Linked DNA regions of Homo sapiens: regions 2 and 3 are each linked to region 1. Evidence: promoter capture Hi-C in human tissues and cell types (Jung and others, 2019). All regions are on one chromosome and are shown on one strand. Each heading gives the region's core, a stretch centred on a gene start or on the middle of the fragment in contact. The rest is flanking DNA. Distances are from core to core; before and after follow the strand shown. Region 1 holds the start of RAB17 (RAB17, member RAS oncogene family). Region 2 holds the start of LOC124908001 (a long non-coding RNA gene). Region 3 overlaps RAMP1 (receptor activity modifying protein 1).

Region 1 (2,759 bases), core at 260-2,759:
AAAAAGGTTATTTTACTATAAACATACAAGTGTCAATATAAAAGAAGCAGCTACCCATAACTCCACCCCCGTAATACAACCACAAATGGTATTTTTGCCTACTTCTAGTTTTTTTCTATGACTCCTAAAAACAAACCAAAACCCATAGTTTTAACATAAAATTATTATCCGATGGGTAAGAAATACTTAATACCAAAGGCAGTCTCACACATTGCTTCAAAATCATGTTTAATGGACATATAACATTTCTACAACTATCTCAACTTGCTGAACCATTTTCCTAATACTGGATTTTTACTTAGTTTTAATTTTTTCTCTGTAATAAGACTGCAGTAAACATTTTCTTATATAACTTTTTGTGTGATTGAGTGTTGTAAGCTTTCAATAATGAGAGGTTGGAGCCTTCTGTCCAAAGAGAAAATTAAAAGTGTGGCACCTGACCCCCACCTCCAGAATTTAATCAAGATGGGGTTATTAGTAGTGAAAGATGTTATTAGGTTGTTGAAGACAAAGATGTTTTCAGGAACACCATATTCAAGACTGGCGCTTCTCTAGTAATCTTAACTTGGGGCTTTTTAATCTCTTGCACCTCCCTTCCACTAAAGGGAAAAAAAACGGAGAGCAAATCCCACATTAGTCTTTTTTGCGGGGAAGGGGCCATTCCAGGGAAGGGTCTGATTGATGAGTCTATCGGCAACTGTGATCCTGTGTCACCCTTGCCTGGGGCCTGTGAAGAATATTGAGATTACGAGAGGTACACCTGTACATTGCATTCAGAATACAGCCATCTGATACAGAAAACACAATGTAGATTGTAAAAAGGAGTTTACAAGAAAACCTGACAAGCTTCCTAGATATCACTGGGTATTAAATTGGGAATGTTGATGTCATTTGAAATGGATTTCTTTAAGAGTTCTTCTCATTACCAGAAGTTTTTTGTGTTTTTTTTTTTCAAGACCTTAAAACCGGAACTTTCCCGAAGAAAAATGCAAATAAGAATCTCCTTCTGGGAATCCGACTTAGTGAGCCATCAGAAATCTGAACTAGGAAGTCTCCGCCCCAGCTTTGTCCTTTGATTATACACACATGGGCACATGCACAGACACAAACAAATACAGACATGGGTACAAACACGTGAGCACACACACAGACACACAGAGACTCACACACAGAGAAGCAGAGACACACACACACACAGGCAGACACTCCACAAAGGGCACAGAGGTTTAAACAATGACTCACCTGTTCCCCAGGCCCGGTCACTTGCAGGGAGCTGAAGAGCCTGTCATCACCAGTCCACAGCGTTGCTACCTGTCTCCGCTTTCTCCTCTCTCTGGTCCAGGGGAAGGTTTGCTTCCCTCCACAGGCAGGACAGGACAGGAGGAGCCTCTACTCCAATGGAAAACAGCCGCAGAGCAGAGGTCAAGAGCAGCAGCCTCGGACCAGAGCAATGCCCACTGGACCCCAGCGCCAAGGTCAGGCCTCTTCTCCTCCCAGAAGGTTTCAGGGCAAAGTCCACAGTGGTCATGTGGTCACCTGAGGCAGGGCAGGAGGCTGGACCTCAAAGCAGGTGACCCGGGAGCACCTGCGCGCTGCCGGAAGTCAAGTCACATTCCAGTCCTGCATTTCCTGGCACCCAACTGGAGCCCGTTTTTCAGCTTTATTCCGGGGTTTCACTTCCAGGATCTCACTTTGGCACAGAATGTTTTTCTTGGCTCCTTCCTTGGAGCTGTATGGAATCTTTGTTGCACTTGAAAAACCAACAGCCCAGAAGAGAAAAGAATATTCCGGTCAGATGAATTAATTCCTCCCACTGTCAGCTAGAAGCCATCCCTGGCTGAGCCCTGCACTGGCCAGAGGCAACTGAGTGTGAGCCAGTCCAGGGTCAGATCCTGGGCTGATGCCACCTGAGGGCGGGGTGGGGGCGTGGCCTCCGTGCACATGGGAGACTCCAGGTGCAGGAGAGGGGGAGGTGGACTTCCTCTTGGTCTTCCCAAGCCATGAAACTTCCTGGCTTGGTGGTAACAGAAGAGTCTCCTCCAGGTAAGATTTCCAGAGCCTCTGAGTATGGCTGGGGTAGCAGGGTTGGGCCTGAGGCTGAGGAGATGGAAATCTGTTGCCGTGAACATTACTCCACACAGCCAGTATACGGGAAGCCAGCTCACTTTATGTCCTCCAAACTCACCCTAACTTCTCGTTTGGGTCTCATCCCGCGGGGCTGCTGGGAAATAAGCTCCGCCACCACAGTGGTTCCTCCGCCCTGTGGGAGTGGGGGGCTCTTATGCTGGAGGGGGGACACTGGCCTGGACTTCTGCTGAGGCTCTGCCCCTCATCCCTGCAGGACGGACTAGCCAGTCCTAACACAGGACTAGCGTTGCTCTACCACGTCCAAGCCTCCTCTGAGATTCTTCCTCCATGCAACCACTTCCCCTGGGGCGTGGCCACCTCCCTGGAAGCCGCCAGCATGCTCGGCTGGGCCCCCGCACTCTGGAGGCTTGAGAATCTCTCTATTTTTGAATGACGTCCTTATCCTCTGCCCCCAGGCTGGTAACCAAAGGTCTGGGGGTGGTGACGTGCTGGGAATGGTGTAACTCGTGAGATGGAGGCTGAATGTGGAAATACATGAATGTGCTTCTCTTCTCTCCAGTTCCCTTGAAGAATCCACCTTCCTGCAGGGTTGGGGGAGCGCAGAATGGGAGGAAGATACAAATACCAATTTTATAGCAAGAATGCAAAAAGAGGCCAGCGCGGTGGCTCGA
Region 2 (3,725 bases), core at 909-3,408, 350 kb after region 1:
AGTCTTTGTTTAATTTCCAGAGTTCCAAGAAATTAACTCCAGCAGTTTGGGCCAATGTTTTGTTGCTTCTTAGAATGCACAATAATTTCAGGGTTCCTTATTGTATTTTCACTAACATCACTTGCCATATTAATTTTTTTCCTTTTATTATATTAGAAACGGGGGTGTCTCACTATATTGCCCAGGCTGGTCTCGAACGCCTGAGCTCAAGTGATCCTCCTGCCTCGGCCTCCCAAAGTGCTGGCATTGTAGGCATGAGCCACCACACCTGGCTATAAGTAGATTGTTCTTCAGAGGTTATTTTCAGCTGACTTTTGGTTTCCTATCTAATTTTGTAATGGTGGGTAATGAAGCCCCTCTGAACCAAGAAGTTTGTATGCAGCTCATTCTTGTCTTCTGTGATTTTCTTTTCTCTCTCTCTCTGTCTTTCTTAAGTATAATTAGAGAGTTTATTTGGGCCAAATTTGAGGACTGCAACCCAGGAGACATATAGTCAAGTTACCCTGAATATATGTTCCCCTCTTCCATTTTCATCTGTCCTGCCCAGCTCCTGTTAAGTACATAAACTGCCAGTCCCATGGCGTTATTTAAGGGGAGGTACATTTAATACCTTGTCTTTTTAAATCAACATAGTGGCCAATCATAGCACAGGGCCTGGCATAGGGTATTAAGCCTCCTCTTGGCTGACACATTTTTTTTCTAGAGACACAGCAAACACCAGTCATGTGGACAGGGAGCAAGTAGACATCATTGGCTTTGATGGCAGCAATGGCCCATCTGGAGAGGCCACTGTGAAAATGCCAGCTGCAGTGGGGGAGGTGTGGTCAGGGCGGCATGCTCCACAGAACAGGCGGGAGCCCCGGCCCCTACTGAGTCGGCAGGACAGAAGCCCCATGCTCCCAGGCGCAGCTGCAGCCACTCAGCCTCAGCTCCAGACCCAGGCATCCGTGCACTCTTGGGGGCCCAGGAAGCCCCTTACCCCTGCAGGCTTGAAAGTGTCTGCTCCTGCTGCCTGGCTTCCCACTGCTCCCAGTGCCCACTCTATGGTAGAGCAAAGCTGTGGCCCATCCTGGGCACTGTCATGACCTGGCTGAGTGCCTGATTTTGGGATGCTGCTGACATGCCAGCCCCCTGGAACCTTGCCCCCTCTGGACTTTGGGTGTCAACCAGCATGGGAGGGAAGCCAAAGGGGTGCTGAGGGCAGCTCAGTGAGGGCCTGCAGGTGCCCCTCAACATGAACAGCTTGGGTGCCGTGGATGGCACATTGATGGCAGCAGGAGGCAGACAGGCTCCTGAGTGGGAAGAGGAGGGTCCCCAGTGAAGCCCCACATTCAAGCCAGGGACAGCCTGAAGCCTAGGGGCTGGGCTGTCAGTTACAGATGGAGTCCACAGCCTGGAGTGAGAACTTATGGTACTTTTTCCAGGCCCACCTATGGCTGCCCACGGTCAGCACACACTTCCTCCCTTCTAAGCCCATAAAAACCCCAGACTCCCACAGACATCAGGACTACCAGCTGCAGGAAGGAAGGGACGACCTACTTTGGGTCTCCTCAACTTGTCGGGACAACCTGCCTGTGGACAGGAGCTACCCACCCTGGGTCTCATCTCCATTGAGAGCTGGACACTCATCAGGATGCCCTGCCTTCAGAAAGGAGCTACCCACTCCGGATCTCCTCTCTGCTGAGGGCTGCATTCATCAGAACTACCTCCCTGTGGAAACAAACTACCCACTCTGGGTCTCCTGAGAGCTGTTCTGTCACTCATTAAAATTCCTCTCCATCTTTCTCACTCTCCAGTTGCCAACGTACCTCATTCTTCCTGGACATGGGACAAGAACTCACCACATGGTGTGACTGAAAGAGCTGTAACACAAACAGGGCTGAAACATGCCCCCCAACCCCCCACTCACCGTGTTGTGGGCAACAAGAAGGAGAGAAGACCTGTGGCCCTTCAGGAAGCCCAGACATAGGGGGTCCCTGAGCCAGGGCTGTGACACCTTCTTTGGAGCTCTGTGGTTCCTGGTATTGCCAAGCTTCCAGGCACCACCATGCTCCCCTCGTCCAGACATAGGTAACCACAGAGGAAGCCGCCTGCAGTACATCTTATCCAGATGCAGCCTTGCACAGAGTTGGTGCCTGTGCCAGTGCCTGGAGCTGCCTGTCCCATAGCAGCAGCCAGTTCACCTGGCTGTGCACAGTGGCTGGACCCCACACTCACTCCACTTTGCTACTGGCTCACCCTTGTCAGGTGTAAGATCCCGGCCAGTAGCACGAGCTGAGTGCAGCCTGCCAGGCCAAGTGGGCAGAATGAGCCAAGTGGGCCTGAGCAAAAACTCAGGCAAAGGCACCACCAGCCACAGAGGTTTCCAACTGCAAAAGCAACAACCTAAGGATCCTGAGGCAGCTTGAGAGACAATGGAGAGTAAGACAGCAATAGACAGAGGCAGGGCTGTGGAGCGACGCAGGCCTCCAAAGAAGAGAGAAGTTTCCATTCCTGAAGCCTTCTGGAATCTGAAGTTTGCTGCCTGGACTGCCCGGTTTTAGTGGAAGAAAGCTTGCATGGGTCTCTGTTTGTTGCTACCAAAGACTCTTGGCTAGAGCAACGTGGATGAAGGAAGGTTGAACCAAAGACATGACAGTGGTTCCGAGGGGCTGGGCAGCCTTTGTGGCCTCCCACCACCACCTCAATTAAGCCAAGCGGTGGATGAAGAGAAGCTTCTGGGCTGTCAAGTGCCTGCTTCTTAAAATCACTTTGGAGAACCCAGGGAGTGCAGGAGGCAAAGCAGCGCCCCCTGCGTGAGTCATCCCCATTTGAGCAGCCTTCCCACCCCGACCTGAGACACAAGGCCACACTTAGCATCGAGGGAGACCAAGTGATGTACCCAGCTTCAAGCCAGGCTTTGTTACAGAGAAGAAAGGAAGGGTAGATGTTGGCATAGCAACCAGCATTGTCTGCAACTCTCTCTGCTGCGTGTCTCCCCATCAGATGCCCCCTGGGAACAGGGTGCCTGAGTGCGACTCTTAGGCCTGTATGATAAAACTGGACTTCTAATTCCCTCTTTCACGTAAATCAGAGCCAGTCATATCATTTCTGCCCACAACCCAACAGCCGTAGCGAGCCACAGGGCCCTACCTGACTGCAGATGGCTGGACGCATGGGGAGCAGAAGGAAGGTAATGAACAACACCACCTCCACCAGCCTTTAACAGGAGTGACGTGGCTCTACGTGCGCTTACAGAAAAGGCCTTCAAGACCTGCCGTTAGCTGGAAAAATAAGAAGAGCAAGCTACAAAACTCACATAGAATATGATCCCACTTGGGTAAGAAATGGTTCAATTAACCCTTAATAGGCCAGGCATAGTGGCTTGTGCATGTAATTCCAGCACTTTGGGAGGCCAAGGCAGTGGGTTGCTTGAGCTGACGAGTTTGAGACCAGCCTGAGCAACATGGTGAAAACTCATGTCTACAAAAAATACAAAAACAAGCCAGGGGTGGTGGCACATGCCTGTGGTCCAGCTACTCAGGAAGCTGAAGTGGGAGGATCACTTGAGCCCAGGAGGTGGAGGTTGCAGTGAGCCAAGAATGTGTCACTGTACTCCAGCCTGGGTGACAGAGCCAGACTCTGTCAAGAAAGAAAAGGAAGGAAGGAAGGAAGAAAGGAAGGAAGGAAGGAAGGAAGGAAGGAAGGAAAGAAGGAAGGGAGGGAGGGAGGGAGGGAAGGGAAGG
Region 3 (3,725 bases), core at 780-3,279, 310 kb after region 1:
AGAAGCCAGCCCTGGCTGCCTAAATGCGAAATAAGCCTGTTGCTGGCTGCCACGAAAATGCCACTGTGTTCCAGTCCTAAATGGGGTGCATGCTATTGGTTTGAGACAGTGATTTTTTTTTTTTCTTTGAGACTGGGTCACACTCTGTCACCCATGCTGGAGTGCAGTGGCATGATCTCCGCTCGCTGCAACCTCCGCCTCCCGGGTTCAAGCAATTCTCCTGCCTCAGCCTCCTGAGTAGCTGGGACTACAGGCACACGCTGCCACACCCAGCTAATTTTTTGTATTTTAGTAGAGATGGGGTTTCACCGTGTTGCCCAGGCTGGTCGCGAACTCCTGACCTCAGGTGACCCGCCCGCCTCGGCCTCCCAAAGTGCTGAGATTACAGGCGTGAGCCACTGCACCTGGCCGAGAGAGAGATTTTTATCACATGAAGAAAATAGCTTCTTTCTGTGTTTTCAAGGTTGTGGCTTTTTTAAAATCAGAAAAGAATATTGAGTTTTCTCAAATGCCTTCTCAATGCGTATTAAAATGACGGTACATTTTTTTCCCATGGTGTATTAAAGTGTGATTTTGTAGTAACAGGTTTAAAGCATTCCTGAAATTAGCCCTCCTTTAAATAAAATATGCTATGTGGCTAGATGAAGTTTGTTAGCATTGGGTAGGGGACTTGAGTGTCTATTTATAGGTGGAAGCGAAGGGCATCTGTTCCGTCCGTGTGCGCATGCGTTGAGACGCATGTCATGCCATCTCAAGAGGCTTGGGATCAGGGTTTGTTAACTTTTTTAAATGAACTGGGAAGCTGCACATCTTTTTCTTTCACTTTAAGAATTTGCAGTGGCTCACGCCTCCCACACCTGTAATCCCAGCACTTTGGAAGGCCGAGGTGGGAGGATCGCTTGAGCCCAGGAGTTTGAGACCAGCCTGAGCAACATAGTGAGAACCTGTCTCAATTAAAAAGAAAAAAAAAGAATTTGAAAGAACTGCCTGGGATCTAGTGCCTTTTGAAACAGCAATTCTTTAATAACATTTGCCATTTTTCTTCTTGGAATTCCTCCTTTTTAAGTCGATATTTGATAGTTTATAATTTAACCAAAAAGTATCCCAATTCACTGAGGATTTTCCAATTTTTAACAAACCTTTTTTACGTATTAATCTCTTATACTTCTTCTTTTTCTTTTCTGTTTTTTGTTTTTTGTTTATTTGTTTGTTTGTTTAGGACAGTGTCTGGCTCTGTCGCCCAGGCTGGAGTGCAGTGGCACGATCTCGACTCACTGCAACCTCTGCCTCCTGGGTTCACGGCATTCTCGTGCCTCAGCCACTCAAGTTAACTGGGACTACAGGTGTGTGCCACCATGCCTGGCTAATTTTGATATTTTCAGCAGAGATGGGGTTTCGCCATGCTGCCCCGGCTGGTCTTGAACTCCTGAGCTCAAGTGATCTGCCCACCTCGGCCTCCCAAAGTGGTGGTATTACAGGCGTGAGCCACCGCACCTGGCCTATATTGCTTCTAATAATTATTGATGGACAAATTATGTGCCATTTGGAGAGATTTATTTTGTTCTTTTTAAAAAATATCTTGCTTTGGATACTTATTTTGTTTATTTTCATTTATTTTTGTTTAATAAAATAATTTATAACTATTAATTTTTCTCAGAATTCACTTTTGCCCCATTCCATTCATTTGTACATATAGTATTGCCGATCTTGTTCTCTTAATATTTTGTAATTGAATTTTTAAATTCTCCTGTGACTTCGAAATTATATAAATGATCTTTCATTTCTAGGAATTCCATTTTTTTAAATTTATCCTTTTTTTAAAACTAATTTTTAGTTTTCAGTATTGTAGCCTGAGAATATTGACTTATGATTTATACTCTGGGGATTTGATGAGTCTCTTTTTGCCGCCTAACACAGACCCAGGGGCCTTTGAAAAGCCGGCTGAGTCTCTGTAGAATAGAACCTTTATCAGACAGTCACTGCATCGGTTTATTAACATTATTTTTCATAATCACTTTATGCTACTGTTTATCTACCTAGCCTTGGGAGGTGTGTTTAAGTCTCCCACGTGTCTTGCGTTCCTGGCAGCTGCGGGCTGTCTGTACGCTGTGGCGCAGTGCCAGCTGTCCTGGGTGGAGCATCCCCATCAGCCCCACTGATGGCCCTTCTCACCGGCCTGGGCCAGGTCTGCTGGGAAGCCCACACCCCTGCTCACCTTCTGTCTGCGTCTCCTGGGTACATCCCTCTCTCGCTGTCTTCCTTCAGGCTTTGTTTCACTTTGCCTTGGAGGTGGCCACTGTGACCAGAGTAAGGGGGATTTTTGCTCTTACCCTCCCTGCCCCGGTGGTGTCTGCAGTCTGGTTGTTGAGACCAACAGTGGGTGAATAATCACATGAGTTCATGGACAGCCACAAAGTAACACCCATCTATGAAGGAAAACCCCACTTTGCTGGGGAAGCCAAATATGATTGAAGCATCCAGAAAAGGCCTCTTTGAGGACGTGACATTTAAGCGAAGGGCGAGCATAGGGTGGCCTTGTGAAGATGAGGCTAAGAGCTTTCCAGTTAAAAGGAACAGCATGTGCAAAGGTCCTGAGGCAGAACACTGGCCACTGTGGCTAGAATGTGGCCAGCAGGAGGGAGGGGACCCAGTTGAGTGACCCACACAGAAGCTTCTGAATCTGGGACAGGTGTAATGGTGAGCACTGAAGGCGTGAAGCAGGGGTGGGAAGGTGTGGACGGTGGGCTTGGGCAGCGGCCAGGGTGTGGGATGTGGCCTGGAGAGCCCGTGGTAGCTAAGCCCAGCATGCAGAGTGGAGGGCGGTGGAGGGGTTTGATGGCTGCCCCTGACTAAACTGGGGGAGGCAGAAGAAGGGGTAGATAGATGCCAAGCCCCCACATACTCACTACAGAAAAGTGGAAGCTGGTATGTAAGTTGTAATAACCCATCCACCAGGACGAGTCACTTCTGCCCCATCCTGGGCACAGTGATGGGGCCTCAGGAGGGGAGGGCACCCTTGAGGGAAAGGGGAGCCATGATAACTCAGGGGATAGGCATGGCATGGGGGCCCTGAGTCACATGTGTTCACAGCCAGAAGTGAACAGCCCAGGCTTCAGGTGGAGGAGGGAGAATGGGGAACTCTCAGGTGCAGCCCAAGGCCGAGAGAGAAGGAGCACTTCGCGGGGGATGCCTCTCCTCCGGGGGCTGGTAAGGGCCCGGGGTCTTCAGTGAGTGAGGATGCCCCACTGCCACCCGGAGCAAGGCTGGAGTGAGGATGAGGTGGGGGCCTGGAGCAAGGGCGAGGTGGAAGAGGGAGGGGTAAGGAGGGATCGGGAGGAGGAGGAGGGGCTGGGAGGAGGAGGGAGGGATCAGGGGGTGGAGGAGGGGCTGGGAGGAGGAGGGAGAGGCCAGGAGGAGAGAGGGATCAGGAGGAAGAGGAGGGGCCAGAAGGACAGGGAGATGGAGGAGGGAACAGGAGGACCAGGAGGACGCAGAGGTCTCCGCAGAGGGGGTGGGGGGAACACAGCGAGGAGGAAAGTGGGGTCCTGCCCCCAGGGCCCACCCCGCACCCCCACTCACCCTTCCACAGAGCCCCTTCCTGCCTCAGAGTTGGGTCCCGCGGGGCCCCCAGTTCCACGCAGGAGGCCACTGAGACTGGAGAGGCCCAACGCCCCGTCCCCGCTCCCTGTCTGCCCTGCACGCCTCCCCCATGAGCCGCTGTCACC

The links. Contacts are between HindIII fragments. The study calls those that stand out against the background at their distance.
Region 2: a fragment that was not itself captured here is called in contact with the fragment with the promoter of RAB17 in region 1 in 1 of the 25 tissues and cell types used here (mesenchymal stem cells).
Region 3: a contact is called between a fragment that was not itself captured here and the fragment with the promoter of RAB17 in region 1, in 1 of the 25 tissues and cell types used here (mesenchymal stem cells).

Annotation. Positions count from the first base shown.
Region 1 is chr2:237,589,225-237,591,983 of GRCh38, forward strand. RAB17 (RAB17, member RAS oncogene family) reads right to left here and starts at 1,510. Exons shown (of 6, transcript NM_022449.4): 1 at 1,243-1,510. RAB17-DT (RAB17 divergent transcript) reads left to right here and starts at 1,936. Exons shown (of 3, transcript NR_187201.1): 1 at 1,936-2,043; 2 at 2,648-2,759. The HindIII fragment of the contact is 5,809 bases long and covers 613-2,759 here.
Region 2 is chr2:237,942,769-237,946,493 of GRCh38, forward strand. It overlaps LOC124908001 (a long non-coding RNA gene), which reads left to right and starts at 2,694. Exons shown (of 2, transcript XR_007088146.1): 1 at 2,694-3,319. The HindIII fragment of the contact is 3,137 bases long and covers 591-3,725 here.
Region 3 is chr2:237,898,961-237,902,685 of GRCh38, forward strand. The region is part of intron 2 of RAMP1 (receptor activity modifying protein 1); the gene reads left to right. Among named protein-coding and RNA genes, the nearest start is that of RAMP1, 41 kb to the left of the region's middle. RefSeq lists enhancers at 1-12, 93-202. The HindIII fragment of the contact is 6,975 bases long and covers 1-3,725 here.